Linked DNA regions of Homo sapiens: region 2 is linked to region 1. The links are contacts of gene promoters, found by promoter capture Hi-C in blood cells and fetal thymus (Javierre and others, 2016). All regions are on one chromosome and are shown on one strand. The core of a region is centred on a gene start or on the middle of the fragment in contact, and the rest is flanking DNA. Distances in the headings are between cores, read along the strand shown.

Region 1 (6,251 bases), core at 3,263-5,762:
TACCTGACTGCTAAGGGAAAAAAGGTCATACATCCCACTATCACTGGCCTCTGCCTCTGCCATCTGGCACCTGTAGATCCCCCTGCCCACACAGGCTGGAGCCCCTCTCTTCTCTCACTGACCCATGAGACACACTTACCACTCCATCAAATCCTATTTAAAGACTTATGAAGTGATCAGCACCAATAATGCTAGATGCTAGATTCAAACTACAGGATAACTATTTTACAGACGGCCAAACTGAGGTTCAGGAAAATGAAATCAATGGTTCCCAAACACCAGTCCAAGAACTGTTGCCAGTCCTTGTGGTGATGTTTTCACCAGTCTTCAGCCAAACTGGAAAAATAAGACTAAAAGCTTTAAGTTTTTCATACACCCGAAATTATTCTATTTTTAAATTGTGAGGTTATGTCCTATCTTCCCTTCTGTGTATACGGAAAAGATATCAAAATGACCCTTCTTTTGTAAAATGATATTGATAGGAGCTGGAATTTGAAACTAGATCACTGACTTTCACCGTCTCCTATTACACTATTTTAATTACTTCTAAATTTTTTTTTTTTTTTTTTTTGAGACGGAGTCTCGCTCTGTCACCCAGGCTGGAGTGCAGTGGCACAATTTCAGCTCACTGCAGCCTCCGCCTCCTGGATTCAAGCAATTCTCCTGCCTCAGCCCCCTGAGTGGCTGGGATTAAAGGCGCATGCCACCATGCCCAGCTAATTTTTGTATTTTCAGTAGAGACGGGGTTTCACCACGTTGGCCAGGCTGGTCTTGAACTCCTGACCTAGTGATCTGCCCGCCTTGGCCTCCCAAAGTGCTGGGATTACAGGTGTGAGCCACTGCGCCTGGCCCACTTTTAAATATTTTTAAATGACTTTAATTTTAAATTCAACAATTATTAAACAATCGTTTATAAATATTTTAAATTGTATAACATAATACACTTAAAATATCTTCAAATAAAACTCGGCCCATGGCTGACTCTTCATGGTATCCTAGGCAGGGTTAAAAACTCAAATCCTCACACGGATAGGCAGGTTACAATTTCAAGAAGTAGATGGGAAAAAAAAAGAAACATTCGCAAGTCCCTAAATGTAGGATTTAAGGGCGCATGTCTCCCCCTGCTGGTTGTGGTGGTAGGAAACCGAACCTAGACCACAATGGTACTGGGGAGAACTTGAATTGGAAAGGACCCTACAGCAAGAAGAATAGGTGCTTCAGAACCCACTATCCATCACAGGGTCCTTACCCCATCCATCATAGGGTCCTTACTCCAACCAAGAGTAAAGAGAGTAAAGTGAGTGAAGGTTAAAGAATTCGTGGCACCAGTAAACTATCAATAGATGCTGATTTACAAATCTTGGTAAATTAATAGGAAAGGAAGAAAAACGTTTACGGTGGTTTAGCTACATAAAAATATTCACTATCAATCTTCATGAATTGCTTATTCTGTATATCTAATTATATAGAATCATAGCATAAAATAATCATAAAAATTATGCCTATCATTAGTCTTGATTCATTTGGTTCCATTACAATACTTGTCTGAAGCTTAAGTTATTGGTACAGCATGGCTGTCTGCTCAAGATGTAGGTAAAGTCAAGGAAGTTTGGTTTATTTGCCCCTTCGGAGGACTAAGAGGGCCTCATGCTTTCGCATATTTCACTGATTCTTTTTTGCTTGGTATGCATTATCCCCTCACCTGCTTCCATTATTGCAAACCCAACTTTCAAGCTGTCTTTAAAGCTTTACCTGCTGGTCTCTTTCTACTCCAACAACCGAAAAAGAAAGTTTTTTTTTTCTCCCTTAATGTTATTGTTTTGTTCAGAATCTTTTGGTAGTTATCCCATTCTCTTTCATATTGCTTATTACATCATGTCTTATTTCCCATATCAGATTGTAAGTTATTTGAAGGCAGACTTTTATTCTTTTTTTTTTTGAATTTTATTTTTGTTTTGTTTTTTATTTAAGTTCAGGGATACGTGTGCAGATTCGTTACATAGGTAAACTTGTGTCATGGCGGTTTGTTGTACAGATGATTTCGTTACCCAGGTATTAAGCCTAGTATCCATGCTGCTGTTTTTTAAATTTTTTATTTCCATAGGTTTTTGGGGAACAGGTGGCATTTTGGTTATATGAGTAAGTTCTTAAGCGGTGATTTGTGAGATTTTGGTGAACCCATCACCTGAGCAGTATACACTGCACCCAATTTGTAGTCTTTTATCCCTCACCCCCTTCCCACCCTTTCCCCTTGAGTCCCCAAAGTCCACTGTATCATCCTTATGCCTTTACATCCTCATAGCTTAACTCCCACTTATGAGTGAGAACATACGATGTTTGGGTTTCTATTCCTTAGTTACTTCACTTAGAATATAAGTCTCCAATCTCATCCAGGTTGCTGCAAATGCCATTAATTCATTCCTCTCATAGTTTATTTATTTGCCCCTTCGGAAAACTAAGATAGGACCACACCTCATGCTTTTGCTTATTTCATTGATTCTTTTTTTGCTTTGTGTGCGTCGTACTCTCACCCACTTCCATTACTGCAAATCCAACTTTTAGCTATCCTTAAAGATTTACCTACTGATCTCTTCCTACTCCAACAACCAAAAAAAAACAAAGTTTTTTTTTCTCCCTTTATTTTATTAATTAGGTTTTGTTCACAATCTTCTGGTACTTATCCCATTCTCTTTCATATTATTTATTACAGCGCGTCTTATTTCCCATATCAGATTTTAAGTTATCTGAAGGCAGATTGTTTTATTCCACTTCAAAAGAAGGCAATATATTAATAGCTTCATGGATAAAAGCCACGGTTTTCGTTTGTTTGTTTTGGTGAGACGGAGATTTGTTGCCCAGGCTGGAGTGCAATGGCACGATCTCGGCTCACCGCATCCTCCGCCTCCCAGGTTCAAGCGATTATCCTGCCTCAGCCTCCCGAGGATTACAGGCATGTGCCACCACGCCCAGCTAATTTTGTATTTTTAGTAGAGACGGGGTTTCACCGTGTTGCCCAGGCTGATCTTGAACTCCTGACCTCAGGTGATCCGCCCGCCTCGGCCTCCCAAAGTGCTGGGATTACAGGCGTCAGCCACTGTGCCTGGCCAAAGCCATGGGTTTTTAGTTGAGTCCTAATGGGCAAAAACGCCACACAACTGGAAAAAAATACCACCTGCGTCATAAACTTGTAAGGAATCATAAAAGGATGCATATAAAGCGGCCCGGCTCCTAATTACTTGGTAATTGTTAACTATTGCTTTCACTCTGTCCCCAAAACAAAAGCCTTACATGGTGTAGGCATATTACTTGTTGGTAAAGCTGACTACTAACAAGTACACCCATACCCAGTAATACATTAGAATTACCTGTGTCTAGAGGACTAACGTGATTAACCACGACCTAGCAGCACTTACAAAGGCCTGGATGACCAGTATAAAACAATTCCCCACTATCTAAATCAGCACTGTCCAATATAACTTTCTGCGATGCTGGGAATGGGCTATATATAATCTGCACTGTCCAATAAAGAGGTCACTGAGCTCCTGAAATGTGGCTAGTACAACTGAGAAACTTATCCAGTCGTTAGTGACCATCTTACTGGACAGCTCAGCTCTTGAATCTGCCTCGACCCGTCAACTCTTTAAACTCGCCCATGTCCTCTTTTTCACTAGCGAAATAATTCTTTTTCTAAGTAACCTTCACTGATTCAAGGCATCAGAACGTCAACTGATCCCAAGCCCTTTTTTTCTTTAGCTGTTACACACGTGTGTTCACCGTGAACCTTCACCAAGAAACAGCATCCATATAAAACCCATAGCACATGACAAAGTCAGTCAAACATCAAAGGTCATGAAATCATCTACTTAAAATAACTCATCGCGCCTCGACCTCGTGAAGCACGGTCTCGAGGGTGGACGGGAACAAAAAACAAACAGGGCGACAGGCGTAGAGAAAATGCGAGGAGCACGCGGGGAGGTCTGGCACCCCTGTCACGGCGACTCCAGGCTGAGGCCGCCCGCACGCCCGCTCTCCCACGCCGGGCACTGTCGCTCCCGGCACGCGCACAGGCCGGACACGACTCGCCCCGGCCCCCACCCCCAACGGCGGCACGGCGGCACGGCGGCACGCACCAAGACAGTGCGAGAGTCGCTCCTCTCTCTGTATCGACTCCAAGCCGGCCCCACCCCCGGCTCCTCTGAACCCCGCCTGGAAACCTTGCCCAAGCCGCTCATTGCTCAAGGCCCCCGTACAAAATGGCGGCGAGGCCTGAGGAACCAACCATAGAGACGCCCGCCGGCCGCGGACAGAGCGTAGGCCTCTGAGCGCTGGCCCCGCCCCGCGCCGGCCTGGTCTTCCGGCGGGGGCGGGGAAAGGGCGCATTTCCAAGGGCCCTTCTAGGAGAACAGCGTGCGGTCTCCATGGTGCCGGGTCATCCGAGTCGGGTCACGTGGCTGGCGAAAGCCGTCGCGGAGGCGTGGGGAGGAGAAATGGGCGGGAGGCTGTGGGGATAGCGAGACACCCAGCGACGACGAGGTTGTCATGGTGCCGCGGGGCCGTGCTCGCGCATGCGCCACCTGACCCACAGGCCGGTCGTGGAGCTGCGACCCCGGCCCTAGGTGAGAAAGGGAGGGCTCGGTCCGGGAGGAGGGGAGCAGGGATGACGGCGGGAGAGGGATTGGGCGAGGAGCGTGGGGAAAGGAGGTGGAAGTAGGGGAGAGAGGAAGAGGAGCGAGTAGGCAAGAGGGGCAAACCGGGACTTTCGGAGGACGGAGAGCCAAATGGTGGGAGCAGGGCTTTGGTTTGCTGTGAGGGGCGTGGGAGAGGGAATCGCGGGTGAGGAGGGGGCTGCGTGTGGGGAGGAGGCTTGTGTGAGGGGCAGGTGGGCCCTGGTCTAGCCCTGGGCGCAACCGCCAGCCGGCTGGGCGGGGAGAGAGCTTGGAGTCCAGCCCGGCTGGGAGCTGAGGGCCAAGCAATGGGCAGGTGAGTGGGCGCCAGAACTAGTAACTGGGCGAGGGTCCTGGGCTTCCGGTTTGAGGTCGGGGGTGGTACCCTGTTCTGGCTCCAGGGCACAGGTGTGCTGCCTTTTCCAGAGACCTGCCGTCACCCTCGTTGCTGGTTGTTTCCCCTGAGTGGCCAGCTTGCCAGGCTTGGTGTCGGGGGTAGTGTTTCTGGGGAGAAGGTGGGCAGTGCCAAGTAAGGAGTTAAGTGGTTAGTGGGTGGGTTCGGGGGAGCTCTGATCCCGGCCCAGGTCACAGGCTGGAGCTAGGCTCCCTGTTATTGCTCAAGTCCTGGCAGTATGCATTGCCTGGGCGTTTGCCCTGGAAGGCTGGTGGTATGCCAGTCACAGCACAGTACTAGGGTCTGCCCAGTTTTGCCCTGCTGAGCTGGCAGGCTGGTGGATGCCTGGAGGGTGCACATGCTGCCTGGCACAGATGCAACGTGGGCTGGTGCGAATGGGTAGGTGGGCACTGTTACTGTGAACTAATTGCAGCAGGGGATCGGAGAAAGTTCTCTAAGCTCATCTCCCCTTTGAAAGGTGAAAATAGAGCCAAACTGGTCTAAAACATAGGAAATTGTATGGAATTGGGGTTCAGGATCTTTGACACGAATTTTCAGCCAAGTTGGAGAAATGGAATGAATGTGGAAGGGAAGATGAATATTAGACATTTAGGTAGACAGGGTTTTTCCACTGTTAAGATACCCAGACATTCTCCCAGAATGGTATCCCTGAATATGCAGGCCAAAAGAAAATGACTTCGGAGAAAAGCTAGTAATGTATTTATAATTCTAACGGGGATTACTCAAGGTTTTCTTTCTGTGACCTTATCACTTTATTGTATTTAAGCCTCTGGTTGGGCTTTTACCTCACACTTCTGTCCAGGCACACATGTTATACACGTGACACATTTTAAAGGGAACTTGAGCTTCCAGGAATGTTGCCAAGTGTCTATAAAAGGAGAGATCTGAAAGCAGCATTTCAGATCCTTTTCTTGTAACCCTGGATCTCCTTTTTAATCATAAGGACAAATCTTCACAAAGATTGTTTGTGGATTAGATCAACCCTTAATTTGGATGGTGGATTTGTCCCTGACGTTTCAACTTAGAATAAGGGGTAGATCAAATATCTGTTTCCTGCAGGGGACCAGACGTGGAGGTTAGATCTTAAGGTGACCGTGGTGTTTGGAAATGCAGAATCTTGACCTTCAAGCTGTTCAGGTATTTCTGTGACTGCTAAGCTACTAGAGCTGTCA
Region 2 (5,836 bases), core at 2,916-5,415, 950 kb before region 1:
AGATGCAAAGACACCAAAAAGAATCTGAATAAATGGGCTTTGCTAAGTTTCTCCGAGTTTATTACCATTAGATCATATCCTTTTTTCTGCAATCATACATCTGAATGAGTGTCCATAAAAATACAGTTTCCCTGTTTTTTAATGTCTTCATTTCTGAATGCTCTTGTGTCAGGTAAAACTTATCTTAAATAAATTTGTATGCTTTGCTTTTGTTAATCTGTCCTTTATTATAGGTGCTATAGCCATGAATATCAAAACGGTTATTGAGAGGATTAAATGAAATACTGAATCTAGTCTTCAGCATGATTCTTGGACTACAGTAAGCTTTTAGTAAATGCTACTTCAACAAAATCCCTAAATTCAACAGAGTTGAGGAGGGTAAGTGAGAGAGCATGGGAGGCGTGGCAAGGGAGGAGTTGGCGAACCTCTGTCTACTGCCACCTGCTCCTTGGCTGCTGCCCTGGGTCCCAGCACAACCCCTCACTGTCCCCCTCTTGGTGTGCTTTACAGGAGATGTGTTTCTGTTATCACTGCTGCCAAGGAGTGCTCAGCATCTCCCCACTCCTGCATTCCTGCCTCCAGGGAAGGTTCCTATAATCCCAAGGAGAAGGCACCAGGAGTACCAGGGGTAGGGGAGGCGGACAAGTTGCCAGGTGTCACTCACTTTCCAAGTATATGCTAACACTTCCTGTCCTCCTTGGTGGACACTGTTTCTGTTAGTAACATCTCTCCAGTGGCTGCTGGAAAAACTTTCTGGAAAGATTTCCAGATGTCTTGGATCTGTTCAGAGAAGATCTGAGCCAGGAAAAGGGGAAAATGGAAATAAATTATGGAGAGAGGATGAGGAATCCATTCATTCATCAAATGTTTATTGAGCACCTACTATGTGACAGGCACTGTTGTAGGTTCCAGGGGGATACAAAGGTGAAAGGACAGATACCGTCCTTATTCTTATGAAACTTACATCCTGGTGGGAGGCAACAGAGTACAAACAAATAAGTACCAAAGAAATAGGATGAAGTTGGACTATAATAAGTGCCATAAGGGAAATATACCAGGTGCTATGGTTTAAATGTATCTTCCAAAATTCAGGTGTTAGAACTTAATGGCCAATGTGATTTTATTAAGAAGTGGAGTATTTAAGAGGTAATTGGTCATGCGGGCTTCTCCCCTCATGAATGGAATTAAGGCTCATATAAAAGAGGTTTTACAGAGTGTTGGCTCACTTGCCCTTCTGCCTTTCATCATGTGAGGACACAGCATTCCTCCCTTCCAAAGGATGCAGAAACGGGGCACCATCTTTGAAGCAAAGAGTGAACCTCATCAGACCACCAAACCTGCCAGCACCTTGATCTTGGATTTCCCAGACTCCAGAAGCTATGAGAAAATACATTTTTGCTCTTTATAAATCACCCAGTCTATGGTATTTTGTTATAGCTGCACAGAATGGACGATGAGATAGAAAGTACTTTAGATCCTATTAGAAAAGTCCTCTCTGTGGAGGTGATATTTTAGCCAAGGCCTCAATGATGCTCTCAGGTGCAGGACAGCATGTCAAGGCCCTGGGGAAGGTGGAAAAAGAGCATGGTGGGTTGGTACTGTGGGCACAGGGAAGAGAGTCAAGACCAGAGGCAGGCAGGGCCCACATCATACCTGACTGTGCAGGCCATAGTGAGGACTTTAGGTTTATTATAAGTGCAGGGAATGTAATAAATCAGCAGTGGAAGATTTTTTATTTATTATTAATTATTTGTTTAAAAAATATATTTGGCTGGGCACAGTGGCTCATGCCTGTAATCCTAGCACTTTGGGAGCCGAGGTGGGCAAATCTCTTAAGCCCAGGAGTTTGAGATCAGCCTGGGCAACACGGTGAAATCCTGTCTCTACAAAAAGTACAAAAACAGCCAAGCGCGGTGGCTCACGCCTGTAATCCCACCACTGTGGGAGGCCAAGGTAGGCAGATCACTTGAGGTCAGGAGTTCTAGATCAGCCTGACCAACATGCAAAACCCTGTCTCTACTGAAAAATACAAAAAGTAGCTGGGTGTGGTGGTGTGTGCCTGTAATCCCAGCTACTAGGGAGGCTGAGGCACAAGAATCGCTTTAACCCAGGAGGCGGAGGTTGCAGTGAGCTGAGATCACACCACTGCACTCCAGCCTGGGTGACAGAATGAGACTGTCTCGAAACAAAAAAAAACAAACAAAAAGCAAACCCCAAACACGTAAACAAACAAAAAGTACAAAAATTAGCCCGGCCTGGTGGCGCGTACCTGTAGTCCCAGCTACTCAGGAGGCTGTGGTGGGAGGATGACCTCAGCCCAAGGGAAGTCGAGGCTGCAGTGAGCCATGATCGTGCCACTGCATTCCAGCCTGGGTGACAGAGTGAGATTCTATCTCAAAAAATATATATACATTTTTGTGGGGAGGAAAGAGGTGAGAGAAGCCTATTATTTCCTTCCATGTGCAGATTCTTTTTCAGCTGGGAATTTCCTCATTCGACTACGTTTGATGGTCAAAAAAGGGAAACTTCTGTTGACTACTCCCCTCTTTTCAGTAACTACTAATACTTTTGGAGCAGTTAATTTGTGTTGGGCTGTGTACTAAATGCTTTACATTCATTATTTCATTTCATCTCCATCCAAGAGATAGATATGTACAAATATTGTCTCCATATTGCAGATAGGGAAGCAAAGGCTCAAAGAAGTGAAGCTTCTAGCTCTGGACACAGTCAGGCAGTTAGGGCTTCACCCTTCACCTCCTTCCCCCTCCTCCACTGCTGCCTGCTTGCAGCCTGCTCAGGCCTTATTACCATCAGTGACCTCCTCAGTTGCCAAGTGTGGTGGCATTTCCTCAGAACTGCTCATCTTCAAACTTCCTTTTCTTCTTCATTTTCTTAAAACTCTCTCTCCTCTGGCTTTTAGACACAGGTTCTCTTCAGATGCTTTCAGTCTTTTTGGAGCTGTCCTCTTCTTCCACAACAGGCCACTTCTCTCACCACCCTCTTTCATTATGTGATTCTGCCCATGGCTTCCACCATCCCATGAAGGCGGAAGTTTCATTACAATTTTCTCATGGGACTGAGACAAGCACTTCTAATGTCCCTGACCCAGCATTTAGTAAACAAGTATTCATTTAATTTTTAACCAACAATAACTATGGAGCACCTACCATGTGTAAGGCACTGTGCTAGGCACTGATGAGAATACAATGAATAGGACAGGGTCTTCAGGGCAATGCAGTAGGCTTTGGTTTGGTTCACATAGTTATATACATATAAGCACAGGGCCAGGCATATTGTAGACGCTTAGTAAATATTTGTTGAATGAGTGACTTAGTTGGGGAGGCAAACTTGCACATAATTGGCTCTAGTTCAGGTTGAAGGAAGAGAGTGTGGTCATAAAGCTACCGGCAAGTGCTCAGAATGAGAGCCAAAGGAGTGGGCAAGCAAGGGTAAGTGTCTTTCTTGAGGTGACATTGGAATTGAGCCTTTAAATCACCCCAGATCCCAAGGGTGTTCTAGAACTAGCAAGTGATATGGTGTGCTCAAGCATGATGCAGGAGGTAGTGGAAGATGGATGAAATGACACCACTAAAATTGTGTTTTAGGAAACTCACTCTGGTGCCTGGGTAGAGGATGGCATTTTGGGGGGAGAGACTGCAAGTGGGAAGACCAGTAAGGCAGCTGCTGCATCACCCAGAAGAGTGGTTACCTGCCCAGATGAGGCCAATGGCAGAGCAAAAACCAATGAGGGAGGACAAATGCAAGACTACTGCAGGAGTGCAATCTACGGGGCTTAGCACTTTGCTAGATAAAGGGGTAAAAGAAAGAAACAAGAACTAAAAATGGGTTTGAAGCTTCTCACCTGGGTAACTGCATGATGGTGGCGATATTTTCCAAAGAGTGAACAGTGGAGAAGGGGCAGGTTTGATAGAAACTATGGAAGAGGCTGGACAAGGTGGCTCACACCTGTAATCCCAGCACTCTAGGAGGCTGGGGCAGGAGGATCACTTGATGGTAGGAGTTTGAGACCAGCCTGGGCAACATAGTGGAGACCCTATCTCTCTACTAAAAATTTAAAAATTAGCTGGGCATGGTGGCATGTGTCTGTAGTCCCAGCTATTTAGGGTGCTGAGGTGGGAATATTACTTGAGCACAGGAGGTCAAGGCTGCAGTGAGGTAATGATCATGCCACTGCAGTGTTCTGTCCGTAGGTGTACCATCATTTAGTTAACTAATCCCTGTTGTAGAATTTCTGACTTTTTCTACTTTCCTCAATCCTCCCTCAGAAATGCTGCAGAGAAGAATTTAACCTGTATCTAACATTTTTGAGCCCATTTCCAATTTTTTTTTTTTTTGAGACATGGTCTCACTCTGTCTTTCATTTCACAGAGACCCTGTCTGGGAAAAAAAAAAAAAAAAAAAAGGAAAGGAGAGAGGGAAGAAAGGAAGGAAGGAAGAAAGAAACTGTGGAAGAAACTAAGCTTTATTTTTGACATTTTATTATATTTACTTATTTATTTTTGAGACACGGTTTCACTCCTGTCACCAGGCTGGAGTGCAGCAGTGTGCTCTCAGCTCACTACAACCTCTGCCTCCTGGAATGAAGTGATCCTCTTGCCTCAGCCTTTCCAGTAGCTAGGATTACAGGCGCCCACCACCACACTTGCCTAATTTTTTGTATTTTTAGTAGGGACGGGGTTTCACCATGTTGGCCAGGCTAGTCTCAAACTCCTGACCTGAAGTGATCCACCCGCCTCAGCCTCCCAAAGTGCTGGGATTACAGGCGTGAGCCACTACGCCTGGCCTATTTTTGACATTTTAAATTGGAAATGCTGGTGAGGTGAACAAGTGGAGCTATCTAGTAGAAAAATGAAAATATAAGTTGGATTTCAAGAAATTTGGGAGCTTTCAGTGCTGATGCAGGCAATCAACACCGTGGGAACAGATGTGATTTGTGGGAGAGAATTTTCACTTATGCAGAAAAGAGGCCTAAGGCTGTGGACACCTGTTGAACATTTCCATATTTCTGTCCTGTGGGAGTCACAGATTCAGCATGTCCAAAATGGAATTAATCATCTTTCCACTAAACCCGTTTATCTTCTTGACTTCTCTAGCTGTGCAGATGGCACTGACCATTGTCTTAGTTGCCCTAGCTCAAAACCTCAGCTATCTTTGTCTCCTACCTTGACTTTTTTTCACCTATAGAACATTCTGAAAATCCACAAAAAACAATAGATAGGAGATATAATCATTGATAATGAAACCATTTCGGATATTGTATGGTGGCTTCTTCTGGTCATATTCCTTTGCGAGTATAGATTTAATTTCCTTTGTATGGGAATCATACTCTACATTTTTAGAGTAATCTTTTTATTGAAGTATAACAGTCATGCAGAAATGTACACAATCATAAGTCGATGGCTTTTCATGTCATTAAATATTCTTTTGCAACATTAATTTTTAAAAGTTGCAAGATATTCCACCCATAGATGTACCATAATTTAGTTAACTAACCCCTGTTGTAGAACTTCTGGCTTTTTCTAGTTTCCTCATCTCTCCCTCAGAAATGCTGCAGAGATGATTTACCTATATTTAACATTTTTGCGCCCATTTCCAATTTTTCCTTAGAATACAATTCTTTGGGGCAAAATTTCAGGGTCCAAGGTATGTGCATATTTTTAAATAAACTTTTTTATTTTAGGATAATTTTGGGTTTAGATAAAAATTATGAAGATTGTTACAGTTTCTGTGTAATTCACACTTTCTCCTATTATTCACTTTTTTTTTTTTTTTTTGTGACGGCTGAGTCTCACTCTGTCGCCCAGGCTGGAGTGCA

Evidence for each region. Contacts are between HindIII fragments. The CHiCAGO score rates a contact against its expected background, and 5 or more counts as called.
Region 2: a contact is called between a fragment that was not itself captured here and the fragment with the promoter of CIPC in region 1, in 1 of 17 cell types (naive CD8 T cells). The highest score is 5.7, in naive CD8 T cells.

What each region holds. Positions count from the first base shown.
Region 1 is chr14:77,093,746-77,099,996 of GRCh38, forward strand. CIPC (CLOCK interacting pacemaker) reads left to right here and starts at 4,513. Exons shown (of 4, transcript NM_033426.3): 1 at 4,513-4,616. It overlaps LOC124903350 (a long non-coding RNA gene), which reads right to left and starts at 4,273. Exons shown (of 2, transcript XR_007064275.1): 1 at 4,131-4,273; 2 at 2,720-3,155. RefSeq lists enhancers at 3,744-3,793, 4,155-4,984, 5,124-5,283 and a silencer at 3,974-4,123. The HindIII fragment of the contact is 10,027 bases long and covers 1,745-6,251 here.
Region 2 is chr14:76,144,393-76,150,228 of GRCh38, forward strand. No RefSeq gene overlaps it. Among named protein-coding and RNA genes, the nearest start is that of GPATCH2L, 4.6 kb to the right of the region's middle. The HindIII fragment of the contact is 627 bases long and covers 3,853-4,479 here.